Linked DNA regions of Homo sapiens: all the other regions are linked to region 1. Evidence: promoter capture Hi-C in 16 types of primary human blood cells and fetal thymus (Javierre and others, 2016). All regions are on one chromosome and are shown on one strand. The core of a region is centred on a gene start or on the middle of the fragment in contact, and the rest is flanking DNA. Distances in the headings are between cores, read along the strand shown. Region 1 holds the start of CFLAR-AS1 (CFLAR antisense RNA 1). Region 2 has its middle 29 kb from the start of LINC01792. Region 3 overlaps BZW1-AS1 (BZW1 antisense RNA 1). Region 4 overlaps BZW1 (basic leucine zipper and W2 domains 1). Region 5 has its middle 19 kb from the start of CLK1. Region 6 overlaps STRADB (STE20 related adaptor beta). Region 7 overlaps PPIL3 (peptidylprolyl isomerase like 3).

Region 1 (4,210 bases), core at 779-3,278:
CAGGTGAGGATATAATTAAATTAGTAACTGTGAAGATATAATTAAATTAGTACTGTTGTTTTTAGCCACTAAATTTTGGAGTGATTTGTATACATTTTTAGGTAAATAATTCACCAGGTAAGTCCTTTGACCTTTCCTATCGGTAAAAGGAAAAGGCTTCTTACTTTTCTCCTTTGCTTGGCCCACAACTAAGGATTAAACAATGAATTATTGGCTGGGCGCAGTGGCTCACCTGTAATCCCAGCACTTTGGGAGGCTGAGGCGGGCAGATTACCTGAGGTCAGGAGTTCAAGACCAGCCTAGCCAACATGGCGAAACCCTGTCTCTACTAAAAATACAAAAATTAGTCAGGTGTAGTGGCACGCACCTGTAGTCCCAGCTACTCAGGAGGCTGAGGCAGGAGAATCGCTTGAACCCAGGAGGTGGAGGTTGCAGTGAGCCAACATTGTGACACTGCACTCCAGCCTGGGCAACAGAGTGAGACTCTGTCTCAAAAAAAAAAATTAATTATTATATCATGTAAGAATGAAGAGCTACAAAGGAGGTGCTGATATTCCTAAGTCTATAATCAATAAGCATCATTAACAAGGAAATAGGAGACATGATTCACAGGTTGCAAATAACCCATTAAATAGTGAGGGCAACCAGCCCCAGTGGCTCACATCTGTAATCCTAGCACTTTGGGAGGCCGAGACGGGCAGATCACCTGAGGTCAGGAGTTCGAGACCAGTCTGGCCAATATGGTGAAACCCCGTCTCTACTAAAAATACAAAAATTAGCCAGGCGTGGTGGTGCTCACCTGTAATCCCAGCTACTAGGGAGGCTGAGACAGGAGAATTGCTTGAACCCGGGAGGCAGAGGTTGCAGTGAGCCAAGATTGCGCCACTGCACTCCAGCCTGGGCAACAGAGCAGAACTCCGTCTCAAATTCAAATAATAATAATAATAATAATAATAATAATAATAATGATGAGGGCAAATGCCGTTACAGGATCTCTGGGTAGCTGTTATCAGGACTGTAATTTTGCACAGCCTTTTTGAAGAGCAATTTGGGAGTATCATTAAATTTTAAATGTGTATACCCTTTATAAAAAAAAGAAAACTCTGTGTGGTAGAAGAGGCCTGGACGCACTGTCCCCTAGCCATCTCCTCTGAGGGTGCAGGCTTGTTTCGATACCCAGTGCTGAATCCAGGCTGAACAAGGAGAGAACCTGGACTAGGACTCCAGTTCCATCACTGCTATTCTATTCCAAAGGACTCACACGTCTCTAATCATGGAGTATTTGCTCCTCCAGGGGGCAGAAGCAAACAGGGAAACACCAGACTCAAAGCTCTTTTGTGTACTTATCTCAAGATTGGTTCACTTCCCTCAAAACCTCTCTTCACTGATAAATGTCCTTCCTTATCAAACAAAGTCCTTGAAAGAAAACTTCACCACATTCTCCCTGCCCATGCTGATATGTAAGGCTTGGACAGAACAAATGCTGTACTGTGCCTTCCAGCTCTTTCCTTTATTTGTGCTCCCTGGAGGTTCTGGCTGGGGAAGCCCCTGTCACATGACTGTGAGCAGACAGCTGTGTGGTGCAGGGCAAAAGAGGAACCAGCCTTGGAATCACAAGATGTGGGTTTAAGTCCTAGTTCCTCCATCTCCTCCTACTAGGGTCTGAATCTTGCATGGTCTTGGAAGAGACTGAGCTATAACAGCAGAGAAGCTAGGAAGGAAATGGGAATCTGAGGTCTGGGGCAGAAAATCCTTACCTAAAAGAACAGAAGAAAAATGGCTAAAGCTGGAGGTGAAGCCAAAAACCATGCAGGTCCCAAGTGCCAATAAGAATAGCAGGTCTGAGCCTCAGACAAGACACAGCATTGCTTAAATATCCTGTGGCAAGGGAGTCACTCCACAGGCCCAGCCTGAAGACATTACCGCTGACATTTCCCATTAACGTCACAATTTTCCTCTATGAGGTGGTGAGGTGGAGTGGGAAGGGCTGTTAGCTGGCACTTGCAACTTTATTGCGCCAGCAAGAACATGCATACAGCCCAGTCTAACGTACAGGATCAAAAAGGTAATGACAGTGTGACTTTGAGTCAGTTTGAGTCAGCCCCAGTTTATTCATCTATAAAACAAGATTAAAACTAATGCTTGGCCAGGTGCAGTGGCTCACACCTACAATCCCAGCACTTTGGGAGGCTGAGGTGGGAGGATGGCTTGAGCTCAGGAGTTTGAGACCACCCTGGGCATCACAGGGAACCCCGTCTCTACAAAAAATAAAAAAACTAGCCAGGCATGGTAGTACAAGCCTGTAGTCATCACAGCTACTCAGGAGGCTGAGGCAGGAGGATCTCTTGAGCAGGAGGTTCTTCAAAAGGTGACTGTGAGGGCAGGGTACAGTGGCTCATACCTGTAATCCCAGCACTTTGGGAGGCCAAGGCGGGTGGATTGCTTGAGCTGCAGAGTTTGAGACCAGCCTGGGCAACATGGCGAAACCCCATCTCTACCAAAAATACAAAAATTGGCTGGGCATGGTGGCACGCATCTGTGGTCCCAGCTACTTGGGAGGCTAAGGAAGGAGGATCACTCGAGCCCAGGAAGTGGAGGAGCCAAGATCGCTCCACTGCACTCCAGCCTGGGTGAAAGAGTGAGACTCTGTCTCAGAAAAAAGGTGACCGTGAGGATCCAATGAGATTTCTGTAAAGATGCTTTGCAAACTGTGTTTATTCAAATATAAGATATTGACTTTAAAGGAAATAAAGGCAGCCATTTCAAAGTACAAATCACCAACCTTATGGTGTTGCACATCTCTCATGGAATCTCTCTCTTAGGACCTGGAGGGAGGTCTCTATATTCTAAACTAAAATGGGCTCAGAGCAGACAGAGTCCATATCCTATGTAGGTAGGACAGTAACTGTTTTGTCCTTGCACATAAATAGAGGAAGAAAAACTTGGGGGCTGGGTTTGGAAAATAAAATTTCAACAAACTACAGAAGACCCACTTCTCCTTCTAGAACCCACCCTGGAAATCCCACACTCAACCCAGTCTGATCTCCGTAAATTTCAACTGTTCTTTAGAACTTCTGGAAATGATGTGGGGGGGTGGGGAGGGGAAGGGCAGGGGTTCTTCTGGCCTTGCAGTTAGTACAGGGCTGTTCATTCAAGGCTAGGGTCAGCACTACTCACAGGTTTGAGGACTTCACAGATAAACCAAAAAAACCAAAATACAGTAAAATGTCATGACTTCATTAATTTAGAATTTGTTTTGATCTAAATGAGGATACATTTATCTTGACAATTTCTATGAAAAGGGCTTCATTAAATAAATGTATAAAATAAACAAGAATGAGGGAATGCTTCACCAGTTAATTTACAATCACATATTGAGTACCTTTAATAAGCCCAGTGTTAACTGCTATAGAGCACATGGGTAAAACATAAGATGGGCAAAACATTCTTAGTGAAAAAGGGAGTTCTGAGGTCAAACGTGTTTGGGAAATGCAAGGTGGACAAGGCTAAAATAGGTTTCTTCGCAGGAAGAATTCTCAGAGCCTTTAATAGGTCAATATGCATTGCAAATCTCTGAGGGGGAAGAGATTAGGCAGCGCTTCTCAAATTTACTTGACCGGAAAACTCTTGTTTTACAAAGTTCCCCTTATTGCCTACAGAAACACTTGGACAAGAGAATACATATCAAATATATGATGTACTTCAATCAAAGAGCTTATAATCTTGTTGGGGAAGCAAAGCTTATAAATACGCATAAAACAAAGATTACGTGGTGGCTCATGGCCATAATCCCAGTGCTTTGGGAGGCCAAGGCAGGAAGATCACTTGAAGCCAGGAGTTCAAGACCGCCCTGGGAAATACAGCAAAAGACCCTGTCTCTATAAAAAACAAAGTTAGCCAGACATGATAGCATGTGCCTGTAGTCCCAGCCACTCAGGAGGCTGAAGTGGGAGGATTGCTTCAGCCCAGAAGTTTGAGACCAGCCTGGGCAACATAGTGAGACCCTGTCTCTACAGAATATTTTAAAAATTAGATGGATGTGGTGGCGCCTGTGTGTAGTTCCAGCTACTTGGGAGGGTGAGGTGAGAGGATTGCTTGAGCCCGGGAGGTGAAGGCTGCAGTGAGCCATGATTGTACCCCTGTGCTCCATTCTGGGTGATAGAGCAAGACCCTGTCTCAAAAAAGAAAAGGAAAGTACAGAAAAATGTTC
Region 2 (4,210 bases), core at 1,194-3,693, 450 kb after region 1:
GTCTGTAGTCTCAGGGGTGATAAATCTTTATCCTTTGAAGGTGAGTTTGATTTTTGGTAAGAGGTCAAAGACATTCAGAAACCAGTTTGACGTGTAAGGCAGTGGGTCAAATTGGCCATCACACTCTTTGGTCAAAAGTCTAGTGAAAAAGAGACTAATTTTTTCTCATGTAGTTTGTAAACCAAGAAGTGTTCTGTTCTGTCTTTTGTTTCACCATGTAGAGTCACTTCCTCAGCCTGGTCCTACTAGAACTTTCCTTTCAAATCAATGTACCTGACAAGGTCTGTATTATTCAATGGGCCCTTGGCACTATGAAGGGTATCTTGTGATTCTCATGAATCCCCTTCAGTGGATTTCACTGTAGTTATACATTTCCCCATAAAAGCTACTTATGAAATTGCGAGATAATAAAAAATACATATAGTGGTCCCTGACCTCAGTTCTTGAGCTCCTAAAACCCTGGTAGGTAGGGGCACTAGAAGAATCTTTGGTTTTAACATTTGGTCTTTGATCTCCAGGCCTGACACAGAGCTCCTAAGACCTTTGTAATTTCCTCAGTGACAGGTACATCTGACACAGAGCTCCTAATCCCTTGGAATTTTCTGGGTGACAGCATCTTCTATCCTAATGAGGTGGTGGTTGGTGGGCTCCTGGTTAGCCTGAGAATGGGGGCTGGTTGCCAAGGGAATCAACCTTGCAGTTAGAGAGTTGGAACTTTTAGCCCACCCCCTGATGCAGAGAGGAGAGAGGCTGAAAGTTGAGTGGCTCACTAAAGACCAATGATGTAATCAATCATGCCTATGAAATTAAGCTTCCATAAAAACCCAGAAGGTCAAGGTTCAGATGAGTGTCTGGATAGCTGAATGCATGGAGGTTCCTGCAGGGTGGCGTGCCCAGGGAGGGCATGGAAGCCCCACACCCCTTCCCACATCCCTTCCTCTATACATCTTTTCCATCTGGCTGTTAACCTGTATCCTTTGTAATATCCTGCATAATAAATGGGTAACTGTAGGTAAAGTGTTTCCCTGAGATCTGCGAGTCACTCTAGAACATTAACCAAACCTAATGTTTGGTTATGGTTTGGTCATGGGAGCCCCCAATTTCTATCCTATAGGTCAGAAGTTGCAGAGGCCTGGATTTGTGATTGGCATCTGAAAAGGAGGGCAGCCTTGTATGACTGAGCCCTCAACCTGTGGGGCCTGACACTGTCTCCAGGTAGGGAGTGTCAGAATTGAGTTAAATTAACTTGGTGTCCACTGGAGAACTGCTTGGTGTGTGAGGAAAAATCCCACACACATCTGACATCAGAAGTGTTCTGGGATGAGTGGTGTGTGAGGGTAGAAAAAAGTATGCTTTTTCCTTCAAAGTACCAAAGTATAAATTTTTAAAAATGTAAATGATCTCTTTAGAACCTAAGCAAACAAGTCCGAGACAAAAAGGAAGCCATAAAGCTGTTAAAATAAAACTGCCTCTAAAATAAAACTCTATGCTTCATTACATTCTAGTCTTGCTTTATAACATTAATCAATTACAAGTGCTTTGTCTCTTGATAGTGACTAGATAAGAAGAAAGACAGATTGAGATGGTTTCACACATGCTTCCTGATCACTTAAAGTGTGTCATATTCATCCACTATCCTGACAATGTCTGTGCTTCCAGTTCTATCCACAGCAAAATGAAAAGTTAGTATGGTAACCAATGATTTAAATAACAGGTTCATATTATTCCACAATTCTGCATTCAATACACTTATAAAACTGACATCAGCACTTCTGAGGGAATTCAGTAGCTCACGTTTTGAAGCAAGGTTGAGTACGCAATTGCCTACACCCAAAGCAGGAATGAGATCAGAAGTTGAAATTCTGCTAACAGTTGACTTCCTAAGGATGAAAATAAAAATTAATCAGCAACCTCAGGGCTTTTATTATGAACACTGAATTAAATAGAGAATGACATTTCTTTTCAGTCTCAGCAATTAGAATAAAAAGTGCCAGCATAAATGAGAGATTTTCTTGCAAATCTTAAAATGTTTTAGAGGAATCACTAATCCCTTTATTTATTGGCGAAACAGAAGTGTGAAGACAAATCGTGAAAATCACTTCCATGCCACCCACTTCTAATTTCTGATTAGGAGAGGACTCCAGTGATTTACATATGAAGAATTTATTTTCCAACTCTGCATGTCTAGCTTGCTTGATAATAGGAAATAGTTAAGGAGAGTAACCCCAGGTGCTTGCAGCTGGTGGTGGGTGGGTGGGGTTAGTAGAGTATATCTGAGAAGAAAGGGAGCAAGGGCTGTTTGGGGTGAGATGTGGAGGGGGAGGCAGGAGCTGAGCCAGAGAGGGTTTGAAAGAGGAGACTAGGCAGCATCCCAGAGACAGCGACATCTGCAGGGTGGGAAAAGTTGATCTCCCAGCCAAGATATCACCACTAAAACCTACCCATGGCTGCAATGCAGATTCAAGGAGCACAGAGGTGACAATATACCGAGAGATTCAGATGTAAGAGGGGGCAGAGGAGAGATGGCTTGTGGGCAACATACCCTGACAACCTTTGATCTGGGGAAGCTGCCTCCTGGAAAAGGCCATTGATGGGGATTTCATCATTGAAGAATTTACTTTGAGTAACAAATTGCAGCTAGAATGACTGAGATGAACCTAGCTGGTTAAAGGCCCTCCCTCCTATAAAGATAGAACTGTTGTAATCAGGCAGCCTAGAATGTGCATGTCACAGGATCCAGAAGAGGCCAGCAGAAACACCAAGCCACAGTAATCAAAGAGGAGGGTGCAGACCGGACCATAGAAACAATCCAGTGATTCTTTCATACAGAGGCATTGAGGGTTAGCAAGGATAATGCTGCTGCTGTTATTTATAGTTGATAATTACATGTATATTTGTAGTCAATATTTTACAGCTATATATCATATATCATAATTGGAATAATACAGAATTACACTGAAAGGTTGAGTTAATTGTGTGGTTCTCATTCATATTTGTTATCAGGTCAATTGTTCTCAATGAACCCATCAGTTATCTCTGTAAGTAACAAGTTAAAGAACCCCTTAGGGAGCTGTTAAAGATAGACATTTCTGGACTGGATAGATTCTCAACAGACAATTGCAGATATGAACCAGGTCATGGGTGGGTGGACCAGGAAGGCAGCACCTCCTCTCTGGCTCCCTATTCTGAAAACTTGGGCATTTAAGTGGCTTATCCACAAGGGTCTGAAATTAGGCAATCTAATATTTCAATCATGTGAAAAACACCAATGGATACAGCAGAAAGTGGTAGAAATCATGAATGATACAACCTTTCCTCACTAAACTACCCACACCCAGATAATTGGTGCAGAAAACCTACTGCCACGTTCCTGATCTATTGTCCAGCCAGGGTTCTCAGATGCTTCAAGAGAGCATGATGTGTCTGTGTGTTCTCTGGGACTTGGGGACCACATCAGCCAGGATGTCCCTCACCTAGGCCAGGCTGAGGCCAGGGTCAGCTCTGAAAGTGAGACACCTTCATTACTATTCTGTAAACCTGGGAAAGAAGAGGGTAAGTCGGAAAGGCCAGAGTAGGCATATAATGCCACCACTCTCTTTCATAAAAGACCCCTTTTTAAATTATTAAATAACACATCTTCATTGTAGACTACCTTGTAAATATAGAAAAGTGAGGAAAAGAGAGTAAACATGATTCAGAATCCCTGAAAAGCAATCAGAACCATTACAGCCATGCTTTGCGCTCTGCTCTAAGGATCAAGAGAGATTTTCCTCATCAGGTGCTGGGTAGCTCCTCTCCCACCATCTCCCCTGCTCTCTGCTCCAGCAACAGGCACTGCCTCCAGTCTCCTGCACAGTGTGTGTGCAGTTCCACCCTCCTTACCTGGTAACTCCCCCTTCCTTTCATCTCAGCTGAGAGAAGCCTTCCATAACTGTCCGATAAGTTTGGGTCACCCTATTACCTGCTCCTCTAACATCACATTCCACTCTTTCATAGCACTTGTCACAATTGCAGTTTTGCATTTCATTTGTTTATTTCTTTGATACCTGTCTTACCCATCAGATTATAAGCTTCATGAGAGCAAAGTCCAGGCCTTTTTCTTTAAGTCATTGTATCCTCAGTGCTTAACACCATGCTTGTTTCCTTGTCTAACTTCACCAAGTCCTTCCCATCTTTATGGTTGAGCTTGAATTCCACACCTCTTTCACCG
Region 3 (4,210 bases), core at 1,127-3,626, 360 kb after region 1:
CTTGTGTCAGAATTTCCTTCCTTTGGAAGGCTATTATTTGTATAATATATACCACATTTTCCTTATCCATTCCTTCATTGATGGACACTTGGGTTGCTTCCACGTTTTAGCTATTGTGAAAAATGCTACTGTGAACATGGGTATATAAATATCTTATTGAGACCTTGCTTTCCATTCTTTTGCTATAAACATAAAAGAAGTGGAATTGCCGGCCAGGCATGGTGGCTCATGCCTGTAATCCCAGCACTTTCGGGGGCTGAGGCAGGCAGATCAAGAGGTTAGGAGTTTGAGACCAGCCTGGCCAACATGATGAAATCCTGTTTTTACTAAAAATACAAAAATTAGCCAGGCATGGTGGCATGTGCCTGTAATCCCAGCTACTTGGGAGGCTGAGGTAGGAGAATTGCTTGAACCTGGGAGGTTGAGGTTGCAGTGAGCCAAGATTGTGCCATTGCACTCCAGCCTGGGCCACAGAATAAGACTTCATCCTGGGGCAAAAAAAAAAAAAAAAAAAAAGAAAAGAAAAAGAAAAAAGAAATGGAGTTGCTGAATCATTGGGCAATCTAATTTTTGATTTTTGAGGAACTACCATACTGTTTTCCACTGCAGCTGTACCATTTTACATTCCCATCAGCAGTACACAAGTGTTCCAATTTCTCCATGTCCTGGCCAACACTTTTTATTTTGTGGTCTTTGTTGTTTGTATGTTTTTCAACTTTTATTTTAGGTTGAGGGGGTCCATGTGCAGGTTTGTTATATAGGTAAACTCATATCATAGGGCTTTGTTGTACAGGTTATTTTGTCATCCAGGCGCTACGCCTAGTACCTAATAGTTATTTTTTCTGATTCTCTCCCTTTTCCAATCCTCCACCCTCAAGTAGGCCCCAGTGTCTATTGTTCCCCTATTTGTGTCCATGAGTTCTCATCATTTAGCTCCCACTTATAAGTGAGAACATGCAGTATTTGGTTTTCTCTTCCTGCATTAGTTTGCTAAGGATAATGGCCTCCATCTCCCTTCATGTTCCTGCAAAAGACATGATCTTGTTCTTTTTTTATTGCTGCATAGTATTCCATGGTGTATATATACCACAGTTTCTTATTCAGTTTCTCATTGATGGGAATTGTATTAGTCTGTTCTCATACTACTATAAAGAACTACCTGAGATTGGGTAATTTATGAAGAAAAGAGGTTTAATTAACTTACAGTGCTGTAGGCTGTATAGGAAGCATGGCTAGGAGGCCACAGGAAATTTACAATCATGGCAGAAGGCAAAGGGGAAGCAAGGCACATCTTACATGGCAGCAGGAGAGAGATAGCACAAAGGGGGAGGTGCTACACACTTTCAAACAACCAGATCTCATGAGAATTCACTATCAACAGAACAGCAAGAGGGAAATCTACCCCATGATCCAATTACCTCCCACCAGGCCCCTCTTCCAACACGTGGGGATTACAATTTGAGATGAGATGTGGGTGGGGACACAAAGCCAGACCATATCAGGTATTAGGTTGATTCCATGTCTTTGCTATTGTGAATAGTGCTGCAGTGAATATTTGTGTGCATGTATCTTTATGGTAGAATGATTTATATTCCTTTGGGAATGTAATGGGATTGCTGGGTCAAATGGTAGTTCTGTTTTTAGCTCTTTGAGGAATCGCCACTCTGCTTTCCACAATGGTTGAACTAATTTACACTCCCACCAAGAGTGTGTAAGCATTCCCTTTTTTCTGCAACCTTGCCAGCAGCTGTTATTTTTTGAGTTTTTAATAATAGCTATTCTGACTGGTGTGAGATGGTATCTCATTGTGGTTTCGATTTGCATTTCTCTAATCAGTGATATTGAGCTGTTTTTCATATGCTTTTTGGCCACTTGTATGTCTTTTGAAAAGTGTCTGTTTATGTCCTTTGCCCACTTTTTAGTGGGGTTGTTTGTATGGAGGTTCATCATTAGTTACATTTAGTCAATAGATTATATGTGTTGTAGAATATGAAATTTATTCATTTAAATTGTAAATAAACTATTTCATCAGGTTAATCGCTGTATAAATTATGTAGGCTCTTCTTACATACGGAAGAACCTTAGAGTCCTGTGTTTGTTTGTTTTTCCTTTGTTGGTTGCATGTCAGCATCTAACTTTAAGCATATAAACCAAGGAGGGAGTGTGGGAGAGGGGTGATGGATGAAAAACTACCTATTAGGTACAATGTACACTGTTTGGGTGATGGGTACACTAAAGTTTCAGACTTCACCACTATACGATTCACTCATGGAACCAAAAACCACTTGTGACCTTAAAGCTGTACAATATATAGTGACTCCTATACAATATGTAGTGAGCAGATTTCAAAGATATAGTCAATGAGGGAGCGAGTGTAATAAAGCAAGTTCAAAGGAAGATGTGAGAAACCAATATGGAAGAAAGAACATCAGAATAAGATTGCAGATTAGGGGGAAAAAAACCCAAATAAACAACAAAACAAAACTGGTTAATGTCCTAAGGGCAATAAAACTGAAACCTTGGGGGATTTCTTTTCAACTATACAGCAATTCTTTGTAATTTATCAATGTTTTGCAAGTTAACACCTGTATTATTTCCTATTACAGCTACAACAAATTATCCTAAACCTGGTGGCATAAAACAACACGAATTGATTATCTTACAGTTCTGAAGGTCAGAATTCCAAAGTGGGTCTCACTGGGCTAAAATCAAGGTGTCAGCAGGGCTGCATTCTACTCGGAGACTCTAGATGAGAATGTGTTTCATCACCTTCGCCAGCTTCCAGAGACTGCCTGCGTTCCTTGGCTTGGGCCCCTGACATCTTTAAAGCCAGCTACTCTAACACCAACTCTCCTGCCTCCCTTTTCCACATTTAAGGATTCTTTTTTATTTGAGATGGAGTCTCGCTCTGTTGCCCAGGCTGGAGTGCAGTGGCACAATCTCAGCTCACTGCAAGCTCCGCCTCCCGGGTTCACGCCATTCTCTTGCCTCAGCCTTCCAAGTAGCTGGGACTACAGGCACCCGCCCCCATGCCTGGCTAATTTTTTGTATTTTTAGTAGAGACGGGGTTTCACCACATTAGCCAGGATGGTCTCGATCTCCTGACCTCGTGATCCGCCCGCCTCGGCCTCCCAAAGTGTTGGGATTACAGGCGTAAGCCACTGCCCCCAGCCACATTTAAGGATTCTTGTGATTACATAGGGCCTATTGAAATAAGCCAGAATAATCTCTTTATTCTAAGGATACCTGATTAGCAAACCTAATTCCAACTGCAACATTCATTTCCCTTTGCCATGTAACCTACATAGTCACAGTTTCTAGGGATTAGGACATGGATGTCTTTGGCGTGCTGTCATTCTACATGCCACATGATCTAATGTGGTCTGGGCCCTAATAAATGGCAGATATATAAAGTTACATTTCCCTAGAGCAAACCCATCTATATAACTTTCTGGAGTGATGGATACTGGTCTTTTCTGTGCTGTTTAATAGGGTACCCAGTAGCTGCATGTGGTTACTGAATACAGTACTTGAAATGTAGCTAAGGAAACTAGGGAACTGAATTTTTTATTTAAATTATTAAAAATTAAATGTACATAGCCACATGTGGCTGGTGGCTACCATATAGACAGGGCAGCCCTAGAGCGTCAGATAACTCTGTAATGGGTTTATTAGACAGTGCTGGAAGATAACATTGACAAGTTATCTGAGTGGGGAGGTTCGCTTGAGGCCAGGACTTTGAAACCAGCCTGGGCAATATTGGGAGATCCTGTCTGTACAAAACATTAAAAAATTAGCCAGGCCTGGTGGCACAGTCCTGTAGTCCTAGCTACTCTGGAGGCCAAGATGGGAGGATTGCTTGAGCCCAGAAGTTTGAGGCTGCAGTGAGCCATGATTGTACTAGGGCACTCCAGCCTGGATGACAGAGTGAGACCCTGTTTCTAAAAGAAAAGAAACGGCTCACAGTATTTTTTTTTCTTTTTTGCATTGTTTCCAAGTTTTGGAAAATTTTGCTTAATACATGCAAGTAAAATAAATAGTGGCTCCAGCAGATTTATATCCAAAAAAAAGTGAAGCCTGGTTTCTTTGCCAAATAACTGTAGGTTCTTTCTTTTTACCTTCCTTAGGTCTCCTGGCTCATGGGTATCTGAGTTACACAGTGTAGGTTTCATCTGTACTTTTGTTGTCATAGAGCACATTCATTGGCTCT
Region 4 (4,210 bases), core at 621-3,120, 330 kb after region 1:
GGGTGGTGGTGGCCGCCTGTAATCCCAGCTACTCAGGAGGCTGAAGCAAGAGAATCGCTTGAACCCAGGAGGCAGAGATTGCAGTGAGCTGAGATCATGCCATTGCACTCCAGCCCAGGTAACAGAGTGAGACTGTCTCCAAAACAAAAACAAAAACATTTTACTCTTTTCATGTACAAAGCACAGAAACAGTACATACACAGCGTATCTATGGTAATAAAATTTATGGGGGACTCTATTAGAAAAAAGTCTAGCTGGGCGCGGTGGCTCAAGCCCATAATCCCAGCACTTTGGGAGGCTGAGGCGGGTGGATCACAAGGTCAGGAGATTGAGACCATCCTCGCTAATCCGGTGAAACCTCGTCTCTACTAAAAATACAAAAAAATTAGTCGGGCATGGTGGCGGGCGCCTGTAGTCCCAGCTACTCGGGAGGCTGAGGCAGGAGAATGGCGTGAACCCGGGAGGCGGAACTTGCAGTGAGCCAAGATCGCGCCACTGCACTCCAGCCTGGTGACAGAGCGAGACTCCGTCTCAAAAAAAAAAAAAAAAAAGCCTAAAAAGGCTGGGGGTATGATAATGGAAAAAAGCTTTTGAAAAACTGAATTAGAAGTCCAACCTCTTGGTCACATGCATTTCCCCTAACTAAAATATGCTATTTCAAAATATCCTGTAGCATTTTTGGTATATGGAGGTTTTTTTTTTTAAATAAGAATGGAATAAACATCTATATATAGAATGAAATAACATCTATAACTCACAGAGTAAGGCTAAGAAACTTACAACCAGCTCTAAAAACTCATTTAGTTTCTAAGGAGACAGCCTTAGAAACTGACAGTTAGAAAAAACATTTATCCAATCATAATTAAAAGTACAATTTAACATCTATATTAAGAATTACATACTTGAGGCCATAGGCTGGCACTGGCACCTGAATTCTAAAATTACCACTTAAGATTCAGAATGGAATCTTTTTATATGGAATGGAATCTGCAATCTTTTTATAAAGCATTCCCTTTCTTTACACTATTACTGTCACAAGTGATATCCACTTACTATAATGTTCTACTAAGTAAACACTACAGTGTCATTATGAAGAAACAAACTACGATCAAAGATAATAATGTAGTTCTGGAAGATGACACACTTTTTCACTATACACAGTATAAAATGGCACACTTTGTATGGAAGAAACATGCAATGAATTGGTTGTAGAAATATTAATGTAGTTTTAGCTACACCAGAATTCTGTGTAGGTGGTTTACAGTTTGGGAGTCTAATTATTACTTAATGGTATACAGATACAGTAAAGACATCTGAACACACAACATACAATACCACTAGGTATTAACATGGAATTTAAAAAAAAAAAGACTGATGTATAAAGCCTAAGTGTAAGTATGGACTTTATTTTTTTAAAAAAAAGTCTTTTGAGAACTACAAATTACAAAGTAAAAGCAGATCACTACGTAGAAATCTAGTGAATACATTTTGCCTGTGCATGAAAAACTTTATCAAAGTTACTCATTTTAACAAATTCACCCCATTCACAACAATCAGTTATAATGTTCTTTTTAAGGTTACTATACCTTTATTTCAAATTATATTACATGTTATTCCCTCAAAATGAACTTTTAAATGACAAACTTTTGGCTCATAAGAATGGCACCTTCAAAAGGGGCGATTTCCACTCAGTCTCTGGTGGCATTATTCCAGGCTAGTTTCACCAGTTAAAAACCTTCAAAATGTTCACTTTTAACACAAAGTCTTCCCATAAAAAATGTGGCTACATTTTCCCCCCAATGACTACATACATAGATGGGTAGCAGCAAGAAAAGATGAAAATGAAAAGGCAGCCATTAAAATAAATGGATCAATTGTATACCAAGAAGTATTTGGCTCATGGCAATTAAAAAACGGCAACTAGGGTATGTTAATAGCCAGAGGCTTGAGTCATTACTGAGTATATTAAGAGAACGAAGCCAGTCCAGTATGACCGAGTAGGAATATATAATTGTCATTGCACTTCATTTGTTATAGCAAATACTCTAAGCCAATAGGAAATCTAAGCTATATCTAGATTCCCAATTAGAACATGCTGACCTTTAACATTTTCAACAATTTTTACTGGGTTTAGTACATCAGTCATTTTCTTTACTCAAACTCCATTACGAGTTCTTTCCTATCAATCTAAGTGTATTCTGTGCATAAAATACCTTAAATGTTAAGACTTTTCTAAGGTTCATTTGAAAATGGTTGTATGAAAAGAATACCCATTTGTTTTGCCTGGAAAGATAGAAACTAAATGCAGAAGTTTCTCAAGGGGAAAAAGCTCAACTTTCTTCTTCCCACCACCTCTGCCACATTATGATTTCCTAAACTTTTCAAGTCTGTTCTCCATGGCTTCTCTAAGGATGAAAACCAGAGACCAAACAATTGAGCTTTAGGATATCTGGAGTTAAAAATGCAAAACAAAACAAAACAAAACAAAACAAAAAGTTAACATGCAAGCAATGGTCCACGTACTCAAGATTCATGTTAAATGAATTCGATTATTACATATGGGTTTTTCATTGATGAGCAGGGCTCCGGGCATGCCATATTATCTCACAAATCATTGCCTTTTGAGACTCTGGATACTTTTCCAGTTTAATTTGCAAACAGAATTTTTATAACAAATTATTTTTTAACCAAATCATATCCTTAAAACTGTTTATAGAAAACCCAGGGAATAAAGTGAACTGTTCATTGTGGAAGGCCTTAAATTACATTATTACAGTAGAAAATACAGGAGGTAGAAGATAACTGAAAAGACTAATGCAACATTAGATTCAAATCTATAGCTCCTGTAGCTACTTAAAACATGGTTTTAGAAACTAAACCCAACATTTCCAGCAACCATAGAAACAGTTAAAATAAAATTTGCCATGAAAGCCCTTATATCATGCTTGATACAGGGAGGTAGGAAGATGTAAGAACCAGGACACATGAGACATGACATTTTATCTACAACTCCTGTTTGCTTTACTGAGGGTGTAGTTTCAAAATTCAGTCACCTTCTTCAGCTTCAGATTCAGATTCTAGAAAAGGGGAAAAAAACAGTCAAACATTATGTATCAGAAGGCAAAAGTTCCCATTTATAACTTTGAAGCTTCTTTAAGACAGAGTCTCCCTCTGTCCCACAGGCCGGAATGCAGCAGCACCCTCTTGGCTCACTGCAACCTCTGCCTCCCGGGTTCAAGTGATCCTCCCACTTCAGTTTCCCAAGTAGCTGGAACTACAGGCGCCCACCACCAAAACTGGCTAATTTTTTATTTTTAGTAGAGACTGGGTTTCCCATGTTGTCCAGGCTGGCCTCATACTCCTGGCCTCAAATGACCTGATCGCCTCAGCCTCCCAAAGTGCTAGGATTACAGGCGTGAGCCACCACACCCAGCCTCCATGTAACTTTGAAGCTGTTAACGAATTTTATTAATAACCTATTTACATGAGGCAGATATTCAAAAGCATTCACTTGGAAATCCCAACATTTGGCTGGGTGCAATCACATCTGCAATCCCTGTACTTTGTGAGGCTGAGGCAGGAAGGTTGTTTGAGCCCAGGAGTTCAAGACCAGCATCGGCAACATAGTGAGACTCTGTCTCTATATTTTTAATTAAAAAAAAAAAGAAAAGAAATCCACAAATTTATAAACATTAAATATTCTCAAAATTTTCCATTTCATGAAGAACATTTACTATTATGGCTGAGCCATAAATATACTATAATAATTAAACTCTAGCTTTCGCCACCTGCCTTATAACAAAAATCTCTACTCCAGGTACAAAATGGCATCAGAAAGAAGGAAGCATGTGTGAAGATATATTATGGCCACATTAAAATTAGCTTTACCAAACAAACCACACAAAGGAAAATCCTTACCTTCTTCAGCATTTTTGAGCCATTCTACAAACTTTTTCATTTGCTCAAGGAAAACACTCTTCCCCTTTGCAACATGTGCATCTTTATACCACTTCAAAATGGGCTCCTCGCTCAGGACTTCAGCTGGAAAGAAAACTCATTGCATTAAGGGAGTTTTAATATACTCTACTCAGCGTTAGAACCACCACCTAATGTGCAAATGCCTGCTTAGCAAACAAACTGCTGAAAAGCTAAAAACATCCATGAGAAATGGAAGATAATAATACATGTGCGCATACCAACTACACTCAAC
Region 5 (4,210 bases), core at 1,082-3,581, 310 kb after region 1:
CCTTCCTTCCTTCCTTCTCTCCCTCCCTCCCTCTCTCCCTCTTTCTTTCTTCCCTCGCTCGCACACAGGAGGTAGAGGTTGCAGTGAGCTGAGATCGCACCATTGCACTCCAGCCTGGGCAACAAGAGCGAAACTCGGTCTCAAAAAAGAAAAAAGAAAATCCCATTACTTTCTGGTTCTCTCTCTATGCATTTGCACCTGCCCATATGTACACATTGTAAAACTCTGCGAATGAGATTGCTGTAATTATTGTTCTGCCCCCCTTTTTACACTTAACAGATACAAGTATTCGTGTAAAAAGTCTGACAGATTGTATTTTCCAGAAATGTCTGCAACAATATCTCCCACTTCACATGCTCTTTGGAACTAGTAACTGCTTCAGAAAATGGACTATGGGAGACATCATTCTAGGTCATAAAAGGTCATGCAACTTCCATCTGGTCTTCATAGAACACCTGCTCTCTGGCAGCTCCCTGTTGGAGGGCTACCTTTTAGAATCCAGTCACCATGCTATGAGAAGCCTATCACATAGAAAGACTACATGTAAGTAACCTTTGGAAAGCCCTGATCTTCAAGTCATCTCAAGTCAGATGCTAGTGACTCCAAGCCTCTGTCATTTGAGTTACTTCCCTTATTGAACCACAGAATCTGTGAGCATAATAACATGGTTATTGTTTTATGCCACTGAACTTTAGCATATAGCAACATATAACTGAAATAAGTTCTTGGGATTGGAACAGCTGAATCAAAAAATATGTTCATTTTGGCCAGGCATGGTGGCTCACACCTATAATCCTAGCACTTTGGGAGACTGAGGTGGGTGGAATGCCTGAGCTCAGGAGTTCAAGACCAGCCTGGGAAACATGGTGAAACCCTATTAGCCGGGTGTGGTGGCGGGTGCCTATAGTCCCAGCTACTTGGGAGGCTGAGGCATGAGAATAGCTTGAACCCAGGAGGCGGAGGCTGCAGTGAGCCGAGATCATCCCACTATACTCCAGCCTGGGCAACAGAGCGAGACTCTGTCTCCAAAAAAAAAAAAAAATTTTTTTTTTCATTTATAATTCTGACCCAATGCCAATTGCTTCTCATCAATCATTGATTCAAAAATAAATAAGAAATCTGGCTGGGCATGGTGGCTCACATCCGTAATCCCACTTTTGGGAGGCTGAGGTGGGCTGATCACATGAGGTCAGGAATTCGAGACCAGCCTGGCCAACATGGCGAAACCCCATCTCTACTAAAAACACAACAAATTAGTCAGGCGTGGTGGCACACACCTGTAATCCCAGCTACTCGGGAGGCTGAGACACAAGAATTGCTTGAACCTGGGAGGTGTGGGTTGCAGTGAGCCGAGATTGCACTACTGTACTCCAGCCTGGGTGACAGAGTGAGACTTCATCTCACACACAAAAAAAAAAAAAAGCCTGGGTGCAGTGGCTCACGCCTGTAGTCCCAGCACTTTGGGAGGCCGAGGCAGGCGGATCACCTGAGGTCAAGAGTTCAAGACCAGCCAGTCTCTACTAAAAATACAAAAATTAGAATGGTGTCATTGTGCATGTCTGTAATCCCAGCTACTTGGGAGGCTGAGGCAGGAGAAATACTTGAACCTGGGAGGTGGAGGTTGCAGTGAGCCAAGACTGCGCCATTGCACTCCATCCTGGGCAACAGAGTGAGACGCCACCTCAAAATAATAATAATAAGTAAAATAAAAAATAAAAATAAAAACATAGAAAATTTGAATAGACCTATAACAAGAAATTGAATTTGTAATACAAAAATTTTGCACAAAGAAAAACTCAGGCCTAGATGCCTTCTCTGGTGAATTCTCTGGTCAAAGCCCTAATCTCCACAGTCTAGACCTACATGCTAAGAGCACACAGCTCTGCCTAGTGCTGACACCAGACCAACACAGAGGGAGGTGGGCAGGCAGCGACAGGCCCATGAGCATAGACCACAGCATCTGAGACTGTCAGTGCATGAGGAATTAAGGAAGCAAATATAGTATCAAAATATCAAAAGTGCACATGTTGATCAGATAAAAAAAGAACATTGTAACAAAGAGCCCCGTGTAACAGAGAGCCCCGTGTTTCTAGAGGGCTCTTGGCAAGCCTGGCAGCCAGGGAAGGATCTTCAGCCTGTACAGAGGCCTTTCCACGCAGCAGCTTTCGACATGCTCAACATTAAAGCTTTTTTTTTACTCTATTGCCCAGGCTGAGTGCAGTGGCGTGTTGATGACTCACTGCAATCTTGATTTGCAGGTCTCAAGTGATCCTCCCACCTCAGCCTCCCAAGAAGCTGGGACCACGGGTGCATGCCACCATGTCCCGCTACTTTTTTGTAGAGATACGGTCTCAGTCTCGCTATGTTGCCCAGGCTGGTCTCCAACTCCTGAGCTCAAGCCATCCTCCTGCCTCGGCCTTACAAAGTGTTGGGATTACAGGCATGAGCCATCACTCTGACCAACATTAAAGCTTTTTTTCCCTCCCATTAAAAACTCGGGGAATGGGCCAGGCAAGGTGGCTTACACCTATAATGTGGAACACCTGGTTGGTCAGCCCAGTGCCCTTGGCCCTGTCACTGGCGCAGGTGCAGGCATAACATAAGCTTGGGGTGGCCAGCTTGGCCTTGGGGGCAGCTTTGGTGGGGTCACACCAGGTCTGTGTGGTCCAGCTTGAGCAGCTCCAGCCACTGGGTCAGTGCCAGCTTCTGCAGGATGACCATGCACAGCAGTGAGTTCAGTGCCTTCTCATCCTCTGCAGCTGACAGCTGCTGCTGCGTCTCCTCCAGCTGTGATGTACTCATTTCACCTGGTGGCAAACTGGTGCACAGTGAGGAGAAGGTGGCCACGTCCTCCTCAGAGGCGAGCACCTGGAGCTCATTGCAGAGCTTCATCCTGGTCTTGGTAACCATGGTCTTCTTCTTCTCCTACTTGCCCTTCAGCTTGGAGAGGGCCACCTTGGCTGCCTGCTGGCTGGCCTGCAGCACAGTGTGCAGCGTGGTGAGCTGCTCCCACTTGGTGCTGAGCAGCGACTTCAACTTGAGGATCTTTTTCACGAGAGCCTCCTTGAACTTGTCCGTGGTTGGGCCCAGCTCTTGCGAGGCGATGCGCTGCCACAACAGCTCCATTATGTGGTTCACAGCTGCCTGCAGGTGCTTGATCTGGTGGCAGATGATACGAATCAAGTGGTAGATATTCATGGGCTCCCAGCATGGGTCACCCAGGGGTGATGGCAGCAAGGGGCTACATGAAGGGCTGATGTCCCTGGTCCTGCTGTGTGCTTGGCCTGCCTCTGTAGCCAGCAGCCCCCTGGGTAGGAGGATGGAGGAGTTGCCCATGGGGCTGGTGCAGCTGGCCCCGTCCTGGCCCTCAGGTAGTAGTCCCCCATGACAGAGCTGGGCCTCCAGTTGTTTCACATGCACACGTGATGGTAGAGGTTGGCCAGCTCCTCACTGAAGATCACCAGCTCATCCTGGGCCACACTCAGGCTGGCCCTGCGTCTCACCGGCAATGTTGCTCACTTTCAGCAACTTCTCCAGCTGGGCCAGTGCTGGCAGCTGGCCTTCTCCAGCAGGGAGACCTCCGCGGTGAGCGCCTGGACTTTGGCCTTGTATAGGCCCTCTCCTCAGCGTGCTGGGTCTCGCGGGCCTCATGCCTGCTGCGCAGTGCCCTGAGCTGCTCTTGGAGCTCGCCAGCCTCGGCAATGCCACAGCCACATGGTACCTGCAGGCCAGGATCTTGCCTGTTGATGTCCACCTCGTAGTAGTCACCATCCGTGATGTTGCAGTCCCTCTCGTTGTCCTGGGCTGTCTGCCACACCTTGCAGGTTCAAAATGGGTTATAGCAGTGGAGACAACTTGTAATGTTGACAACGCATTTGGCCCAGGAACTGCTAACAAACATACAGTGCAGTAGTGGTTCAAGAAGTTTTGCAAAGGAGATGAGAGCCCTGAAGATGAGGAGCATAGTGGCCAGCCATGGGGAGTTAACAACGACCAATTGAGAGCAATCATCGAAGCTGATCCTCTTACAACTACACGAGAAGTTGCCGAAGAACTCGACATCGACCATTCTTTGGTCTTTCGGTATTTGAAGCCAATTGGAAAGGTGAAAAAACTCAGTAAGTGGGTGTCTCGTGAGCTGACCAAAAATCTAAAAAATCACTGTTTTGAAGTGTTGTCTTTTCTTATTCTACTCAACAACAATGAATCA
Region 6 (4,210 bases), core at 718-3,217, 300 kb before region 1:
CTGGGCAACACACAGCCCTTTGAATCTCACAATTCTCGCCTATCAAATGAAGGGAATAGACTGAATGCCCTTTCACATCTTTTCCAACTTAAAAATTGATATAAAATTGTAAATCTTAAGTAATCCTTTAGAGTAAGGGTCGGCAAACTATGGTCCATGAGCCAAATCTGACCCACCACCTGTTTTTGTGAGTAAAGTTTTACTGGAACACAGATACATTCATTCATTCATTTATATATTGCCTATGGCTGCTTTCATGCTAGTATTTCAGCAGAAAAGTAGCTGTAACAAAGACCAAAGGGTCTGTAAATACTATCTGGCCTTTACAGAAAAGCTTGCTGATCCCTCCTTTACAGAATAAAACATTTCACCTCCGTGTATTTTCCAGATATATAAAGCTTCTCTTTCAAGTGGTAATGCTTTACTTTAAACATGTAAGTAACTGTGTTATGTATTTTCCATATTACTAACAATCCAGTCTTCTAACTTCATAGTTCTGCCTCTCAGCCTTGGTAATTGATAGAATAGATTGGCAGGTATGAGTCTGGCTCCAACTTTTTGCAATCTTGGACAAACTGAAAATGAGGATAATGCCACCTGCCCTGCTAAACTTACACAATTTGAAACTATGAAAGAAATATATGAAAGTATTTGTAAACTATAAATCATCATACAAATATACTCATCCTTTTTTTTTTTTGAGACAGGATCTCCCTCTATCACCCAGGCTGGAATGCAATGGCATGATCACAGTTCACTGCAGCCTTGATCCCTTGTTCAAGGGATCCTCCCACCTTAACCCTCTGAGTAGCTGAGACTACAGGCATATGACACTACGTCTGGCTAATATTTTATACAGACAGGATCTCACTATGTTGCCTAGGCTGGTGTTGAACTCCTGGGTTCAACTGATTCTCTAGCCTTGGCCCCTAAAAATGCTGGGATTACAGGTGTGAGCCACTACACGTGGTCTACTCATTACTTTTTTAAAAACCACATTTTAATATAAGTATTCCCTATTCAAATATTATTATTATGTATAAAACAGGATGAAAGTCCTCAAGCTACTTAATCTAAAGTAGATACCACGGATCTAAATATAAATAGAAAACCAGTTGGCAGCTATACCTCATATATACATTGATCCAAATGATTTTATTTCGGTTAAGTCAAAGGGGTTATTTTTAATACTGTTTGGCTTGCTTTTGGTCAGATGGAAATTTGTAAAAGGAATTTCTGAAAGATTTAAAAGATAAGGCATAGCTAACTGGTGTGGGTGGCATATCAAAGTATAACACCTATGAGAAAAAGTAGATATGGGACAAAAGATTAGAATAATGAACATATTGAAGTATACGAGAAGTTCTTTATGAAAGAAAGAAAAACTCAATGAGAATGTAATTCATTTCTCAAGTCCAGAAGTCAATCAGGTCAAAACAATATCTCAGAGCATAAGAATATCCCATCAGAATATGCCTTTTATTATGGCTTGGCATTAACATCCAACTACTCTGACAGAACAAAATCAGATCTATATTTACAAAAACTTACCAAAAGAGACATTGAATCACTTTAGTTCACACAGAAAGTGACAAAAATCCATCTATTCCAAAGAAGGCTTTTGTTTTATCTTCCTTTCAAGATGCAGATATATCCTACTATAAAAAACAAAAGCAAAATAATTTAGATTCACATAAAAGTTCCTTAAAGAACCAGTTGCCTTAAACCCATCCAATATTTAGGCAGCTATTCCCTGATACCCAATATTTAGGCAGCTACTCCTTGACACAAGGAGACATTCCTGAAAAGTATCTTTAAAGAGCATTTATTTTTTACTGAACATTATTTGTGATCTGACATCACAACCAAGAAGCAGAGTGAAAACAAAAAGAAGTCCTGAATATTTCCAAAGCCTCAATATGTTTGCATTTCTCCTTCCCTATCTTTTCTATACTGTTTTTTGTTTGTTTTTTAAAGAACGCTGAGCAAATTTGAAAGCAATGTAGAAAACCAATTTTTGGCCCACTTTTGATATAAACAGTGTCACTTACAATAAACCCCAAGAATTTTCAATGGTTCCACATATTACAACTAAACTTTGAGACTTTCCAAAGCCCTTTCTTATTGGATTAATTACGTATTAAATCATTTGGGGTCCCTGACCAGCAAATATGGGAAAGAATCAGAATAACAGACTAGGAAATTAATTCAAGGAGATACAAAAGCACCATCCACGGTTTCCAGACCTTTACTAATAGAAAGGGTGGCAATCTTGTAAGTTTGTGGGTTCAGAGCATCCCTTTACATCTAACCAACATCATCTCTTTCATCTAAATTGTGCTTCATTATTTCAACTCCCCAAATTTGATGAACCCATCTACAAATATGTGAGCAGGATGAGAAAGGGAAGATTTTGTAAACCATAAAAACCATAAAGCAATATCCAATTTTATTGCTAAAGAAAGAGGTGAATTTATTCAGGATGTTCACTATGAACCAAAGGTAGAGATTGGGAGGAAGACGGACCTGAAAGGCTGTGATCATTTAGCCACCTACCATTCATTACCGTCAATTTAAAGCACTGGAGTTTGCTGTGCTGCAAAAGGAGGAAAGCAATGCCTGCCCTGCCAACCTTCCAGGGTGAATGAAATCAAATGAGTTACATCTCAAAGTGCCCCTAATTAGCAAACACTGTATCAGCTTGAACTATGCTTTGAAAGGTACACTCAAATGTACTGATGGCAGTACAAAACTATAAGGTTTATTTGGAAAGCAGGTTGTCAAATGTTTCAATAACCATGAAAATATTCATACTTTTTGACCCAGTAAAATTCCCCGGAGTGATCTATTCTAAGGAGATATCCAAGTAAATGAAGAAACTACACATCATAGTCAATACACTGTTAATCTGTTAACAGCCAAGTAATCATTACACAAGTGTTTAATGAGTGGTTACCATGGGTCAGGCACTGTGGACACCCGCTGGTAATCAGGGCAGACAAGACCCTGGCCACTTGTAGCTGACCTTCCCACAAGCAGAAGGGTTATGGATGTCATGATTAACCAAATTTTCTGGTTATCATGATTTTGTATCCTGCTTTTTTCACTCAATGTCAGCAAGTTGTTACTGATTTTGTCTTAATAATGTGAAACTCCATTACGTTGTCTATTTTTTTCTCTTTTTCAGAAAAGCTCAGAAGAAACAGACACAATCTGGTAAGAATTGTTAGTAATAAAAGGGTTGTCCCTATGGGGTGGTTTAATCTCAGAGATTTTTGCCTTAGATACACCAGACTATTAAGAGATAATTTTACAAGACATTTTGAGGTCAAGGCAGCAGCTGCACCCAGCAAAGGGGTGGGGGTGGGGGATTTGCTGTTATTATAATTTTCTCCGGCATGCTCTTTCACGAGATATGAATATAAACCCTTTCTTAAAAAAAAGTCATATTTAAGAGACTTATATTTCGTATTCACAAGTACATCAGTGCAGTCCCTTACACTTGTATCCAAAACGCTAATTACGATAAAGCTTTATAAGTAATTTCAGTTTGTTCCATAATAGAATGGTTCATGTGAAGACTTTGATCTGAAAGATTAACACTTTCTGTAGAAACCAAAGGGCGCATCTTCTAGAACACGGGTTTTGAGTTAATTTAGGCATTCAACAGAGGCCACTGTTACAGGGAATGCAAAAATGACCCGATGTAACTCTTTGTTGAGCTTTAAAATTACTGTAATTTTCAAAGTGATCTTGGGAACCCATAAAATCTTAACAAAGATCATAGCGACGCACAGTTCAGGAGAATTTTCCAAGCTTAGTGACTCATGCGTTCAACAAATCTTTACTGAGCGCCTACTGGGTGCCAGGCACCGTGCTAAGCAGGCGCCGTGTTACACATCCGTATCAAGTTTTGGGGAAAAGGTACTTGACAAAGACCCAGCAGGGAAAAACACAGCGTTGAATTGAAAAACCGAAGACAAAACGACACTCGAGTATTTAATTTTGTAAAAGGTTCCTTCCTAGTCCTGCTATGGGGGACTTTGCAGCGAACTTGCAGAAGGCGGCAGATAGAGCTGGGGTCTGAGGGTGTCTTCGATATGGCAACTCCCCAAGCCCGAGAGCGCGGCCAAAGGTGAGGGGTGCGGGGAGAGGGCGCCCGGGCGGCCTGGGCCCCGCGCACCTGGCACGGCCGGCACGGCCAACCCGG
Region 7 (4,210 bases), core at 1,139-3,638, 290 kb after region 1:
GGGCGCCCAACAGCTTTTATCCCCATTCTTAGAGCATATTCTTTATTATAATGATTATCCAACATATTTCTTTAATTTTAATACAAAAAATACATCATTTAATTTTTGTTACATATGAACATTCATTTTTAAATGCTCAGCCTCAAGTGCAGGCATTTTTGAGTGGCCTGATTACATATTCCTCCCACAGCAAGTCCGTATCCTGGAAGTGTTATTTTATAATAAAATTTAAAAAGTTTTAAAGAATTAAATCGTAGGACAAATTAATTAAAATATTGTGTAAAATTACCTTCAGGCTATGTGTATAAGGTATATATGAAACGTAAATGAACTTCATGTTTAAATTTGGGTCTCATCTCCAAGATATCTTATTATGTATATGCAAGTATCCCCAAATCTGAAAATTTGGGTATTCCTGAAACTGATACTAACGGTAAGAGCTCTACCATTAATTATTCACTTTATACAGTTAGAAAGAGGAGGGACAGGATAAAAAGTTAGTCTGGAAAGGCCAGCCAATCCATTTGCTATTTTCTCTGATTTTTTTTTTTTTCTTTTTGAGACGGAGTCTTGCTCTTTTACCCGGGCTGGAGTGCAGCGGGTCACTGCAACCCCTGCCTCCCAGGTTCAAGTGATTCTCCTGCCTCAGCCTCCCAAGTAGCTGGGACTACAGGTGCACACCACCATGCCCAGCTACTTTTTGTATTTTTTTTTTCAGTAGAGACGGGGTTTACAGAGACCATGTTGGCCAGGATGGTCTTGATCTTTTGACCTCATGATCTGCCCACCTCGGCCTCCCAAAGTGCTGGGATTACAGGTGTGATCTTTAGGTTTACAGTAAAGGCTCTCAGAGGTCCTGGAGGCCGAGTGTGGTGGCTGACGCCTATAATCCCAGCACTTTGGGAGGCCAAGATGGGCAGATCACGAGATCAGGAGATCAAGACCATCCTGGCTAACATGGTGAAACCCTGTCTCTACTAAAAATATAAAAAATTAGCTGGGCATGGTGGCGGGTGCCTGTAGTCCCAGCTACTTGGGAGGCTGAGGCAGGAGAATCACTTGAACCCGGGAGGCAGAGGTTGTAGTGAGCCAAGATCGAGCCATTGCACTCCAGCCTGGGTGACAGTGGGAGACTCCATCTCAAAAAAAAAAAAAAAAAAAAGATGTCTTGGAATACAGTAAACACTCAACATTTCCCAACTGATTTGCTCATGGACTTTTTTTTTTTTTTTTGAGACATAGTCTCACTCTTGTCACTCAGGCTGGAGTGCAATGGCACAATCTCGTCTCACTGCAACCTCCGCCTCCCGGGCTCAAGTGATTCTCCTGCCTCAGCCTCCCGAGTAGCTGGGATTACAGGCATCTGCCACCATGCCTAGCTATTGTTTTTTTGTGTTTTTAGTAGAGACAGGGTTTCACCATGTTGGCCAGGCTGGTCGTGAGCTCCTGACCTCAGGTGATCCGTCCACCTTGGCCGCCCAAAGTGCTGGGATTACAGGCGTGAGCCACCACACCCGGCCTGCTCATGGACATTTTTTAAGGCATATCTTTTTTTTTTTTAATTTTAGATTCAGCAGGTACATGTGCAGGTTTGTTACAAGTGTATAATGCATGGTGCTGAGGTTTGGGCTTCTACTGATCCTGTCACCCAGACAGTGAACATAGTGCCCAAAAGGAAGCTTTTCAGCCCTTGCCCCTGCCCCTTCCTCCTTTTTTGGAGTCCCCAGTGTCCACTGTTCCCATCTTTTTGTCCATGTGAATCCAAGATTTAGCTCCCATTTATTGTAACTGAATGCAGGCTGGGCTGCACGCCACTTGCAAAGTCAACAACAAGGAGGAGATGCAGGAAAAGGAAAGTGACTTTATTCCAGAGCTAGCAGTGGGGAAATGGCCAAAGCTAGTACCTTAAAGAAATCATTTTGAACTTTAGGCTGGGGAGAGGTGCTTAAAAAGGGAACTTAGAATGGGAGGCATGCGGGAGTGGTGCAGGGTTTCAGATCTCTGTGGCTTGCTGTAGTGGCTATCTTGAGTTGTGGTCCACCTGGAGTGGGGGCTGGCATCATCTCAACAATGGCTGGGTTGTTGACTAACCACCTTAAGGTAATCTCTGGAATTTTGCAGCTGGGTCTCCAAGCCTGGTATATGTCATGATTAGCCCTTGATGGGCCAGGCACAGTGGCTCACACCTATAATCGCAGCACTTTGGGGAGGCCAAGGTGGGAGGATCACCTGAGCCCAGGAGTTTTAGATCGGCCTGGGCAACGTAGTGAGACCTTGAATCTACTAAAAATTGAAAAAAAAAAAAAAAAAAAAAAAAAGCCGGATGTGGTAGCCCCAGCTACTTAAAAGGCTGAGGTGGGAGGATTGCTTGAGCTAGGGAAGTAGAGACTGCAGTGATCCATGGTCGTGCCACTGGACTCCAGCCTGGGCAAGAGAGTTAAGACCCTATAGATAAGAGTGTATAGTGTAAGTTTAACAAGTGTACAGTTAGATAAATGTGCATAGTATAAGGGAGTGTGAGGCGGGAAAGGGAGGGAAACGGTTTTAACAAGACTACATTCTGAAATTAAGAAAGAAAGGGCCAGGCACGGTGGCTCACGCCTGTAATCCCAGCACTTTGGGAGGCTGAGGCAGGCGGATCATGAGGTCAAGAGATCGAGACCATCCTGGCCAACATGGTGAAACCCCGTCTCTACTAAAAATACAAAAATTAGCTGGCCGTGGTGGCACGCGCCTGTAGTCCCAGCTACTTGAGAGGCTGAGGCAGGAGAATTGCTTGAACCTGGGAGGCAGAGGTCGCAGTGAGCCGAGATTGCACCACTGCACTCCAGCGTGGAAACAGAGACTTCTGTCTCAAAAAAAAAAGGAAAAAAAAAACTTTAAAATGCATTTCAAGGCTAGGATACTTGGTTATATTACAAGTGAGAACATAAGGCATATCTCTGAAAATATTGAAGAGTGGAGCTTTACAGAATATCCATTTGAAAAATGCAATGAACTAGTTAAAGGCACCAGTTTGTGGAGTTCTGGTCTGTGTTTGAATCACAGCTGTGTCCCTTACAGTGTAACTTTAAGCAAGTTAACATCTTCAAGCTTTAGTATTCTCATCCATAAATAATACCTCAGAAGACAATTGTGAGGGTTAAATGTGTGTAAAGCTTCTGGCATGTAGTAAGTAAGTAGAAGCTGCTGTCCTAACATTCATGTCCACCACAGGGCTCTCACCTCATCAAGCCATTCATTGGGTTCTACCACTGATTTCATCAAGACCATATTCTGCCCACTGCCTAGATCACAGTGGTTGGATTTGGGTGTTCCTAAAACTTATACCAGCCGAGCGTAGTGGCTCATGCCTGTAATTCCAGCCCTTTGGGAGGCCAAGGCGGGCAGATCACCTGAGGTTGGGAGTTCGAGACCAGCCTGACCAACATACAGAAAACCTGTCTCTATTAAAAATACAAAATTAGCTGGGCGTGGTGGCACATGCCTATAATCCCAGCTACTCGGGAGGCTGAGGCAGGAGAATTGTTTGAACCCCGGGAGGCGGCGGTTGCGGTGAGCTGAGATCGTGCCGTTGGACTCCAGCCTGGGTGACAAGAGCAAAACTCCGTCTCAAAATGTTTGTCTTGGCATCAGTTCTTGGTTTGTCTCATTTCTTCCAATGGCTGGTCTAATTAATGTTTTGATTCTTTCTTGACTAGTTTGGAGTTAGCTTACAGCTATCCTCTTGTCACCATTTATATCTTCCACTAAACTGAGGTGCTTTTTACTAGCAGCGAATCTGTATCCGTACAGGTCTGCAGCAACCTCAATTCTTGCCTCCTCAGAAGAAAGAATTCGACTGAGGGGCAGAAGGAGAGGGTGAGGCACGTTTTAGAGCAAGAGTGAAAGTTTATTAAAAAGCTTTAGAGGAGGAATGAAAGAAAGGGAAGTACGCTTGGAAGAGGACCAAGCGGGCGACTTGAAAGATAAATGTGTGGCTTGAGCTTTTGACTTGGCGTTTTATACACTGGCATACTTCCAAGGTCTTGCATTACTTCTCCCCACTTGCCCAACTCCTGAGATCTTATTGGGAAGCTGCTGCTCACCAGTTTCAGGTGTTTTCTATTAGGAGACTGCCGTTCCCTGGTGCCAGCTGTGACCAATTACTACTTCAGCAAGAGAGTTAATAACCGCCTGACCATCTCACCTGATGGTTGCCCGACACTCC

The links. Contacts are between HindIII fragments. The CHiCAGO score rates a contact against its expected background, and 5 or more counts as called.
Region 2: a contact is called between a fragment that was not itself captured here and the fragment with the promoter of CFLAR-AS1 in region 1, in 2 of 17 cell types (non-activated CD4 T cells and naive CD8 T cells). The highest score is 6.1, in non-activated CD4 T cells.
Region 3: a contact is called between a fragment that was not itself captured here and the fragment with the promoter of CFLAR-AS1 in region 1, in 1 of 17 cell types (neutrophils). The highest score is 6.3, in neutrophils.
Region 4: a fragment that was not itself captured here is called in contact with the fragment with the promoter of CFLAR-AS1 in region 1 in 1 of 17 cell types (neutrophils); the score reaches 7.9 in neutrophils.
Region 5: a contact is called between a fragment that was not itself captured here and the fragment with the promoter of CFLAR-AS1 in region 1, in 1 of 17 cell types (neutrophils). The highest score is 8.6, in neutrophils.
Region 6: a contact is called between a fragment that was not itself captured here and the fragment with the promoter of CFLAR-AS1 in region 1, in 1 of 17 cell types (neutrophils). The highest score is 5.7, in neutrophils.
Region 7: a contact is called between a fragment that was not itself captured here and the fragment with the promoter of CFLAR-AS1 in region 1, in 8 of 17 cell types (neutrophils, monocytes, non-activated CD4 T cells and 5 more). The highest score is 13.0, in neutrophils.

The regions. Positions count from the first base shown.
Region 1 is chr2:201,155,610-201,159,819 of GRCh38, reverse strand. CFLAR-AS1 (CFLAR antisense RNA 1) reads left to right here and starts at 2,028. Exons shown (of 7, transcript NR_040030.1): 1 at 2,028-2,065. All of the region lies in intron 8 of CFLAR (CASP8 and FADD like apoptosis regulator), which reads right to left. RefSeq lists enhancers at 1,300-1,629, 1,650-1,729. The HindIII fragment of the contact is 4,248 bases long and covers 1-3,742 here.
Region 2 is chr2:200,704,004-200,708,213 of GRCh38, reverse strand. It overlaps the pseudogene AOX3P-AOX2P and the pseudogene AOX3P. Among named protein-coding and RNA genes, the nearest start is that of LINC01792, 29 kb to the left of the region's middle. The HindIII fragment of the contact is 3,259 bases long and covers 814-4,072 here.
Region 3 is chr2:200,798,740-200,802,949 of GRCh38, reverse strand. The region is part of intron 1 of BZW1-AS1 (BZW1 antisense RNA 1); the gene reads left to right. Among named protein-coding and RNA genes, the nearest start is that of BZW1, 11 kb to the left of the region's middle. The HindIII fragment of the contact is 5,757 bases long and covers 1-4,210 here.
Region 4 is chr2:200,821,014-200,825,223 of GRCh38, reverse strand. BZW1 (basic leucine zipper and W2 domains 1) reads right to left here. Exons shown (of 12, transcript NM_001207067.2): 11 at 3,919-4,041; 12 at 1-3,077. The coding sequence ends at 3,046. Among named protein-coding and RNA genes, the nearest start is that of BZW1-AS1, 11 kb to the right of the region's middle. The HindIII fragment of the contact is 2,561 bases long and covers 590-3,150 here.
Region 5 is chr2:200,843,855-200,848,064 of GRCh38, reverse strand. It overlaps the pseudogene BICD1P1. Among named protein-coding and RNA genes, the nearest start is that of CLK1, 19 kb to the left of the region's middle. The HindIII fragment of the contact is 285 bases long and covers 2,189-2,473 here.
Region 6 is chr2:201,452,194-201,456,403 of GRCh38, reverse strand. It overlaps STRADB (STE20 related adaptor beta), which reads right to left. Exons shown (of 12, transcript NM_018571.6): 2 at 1,552-1,658. The coding sequence starts at 1,563. Among named protein-coding and RNA genes, the nearest start is that of STRADB, 2.6 kb to the right of the region's middle. RefSeq lists a silencer at 4,094-4,210. The HindIII fragment of the contact is 3,133 bases long and covers 401-3,533 here.
Region 7 is chr2:200,867,045-200,871,254 of GRCh38, reverse strand. PPIL3 (peptidylprolyl isomerase like 3) reads left to right here. Exons shown (of 7, transcript NM_130906.3): 7 at 1-348. Among named protein-coding and RNA genes, the nearest start is that of CLK1, 4.5 kb to the right of the region's middle. The HindIII fragment of the contact is 1,414 bases long and covers 1,682-3,095 here.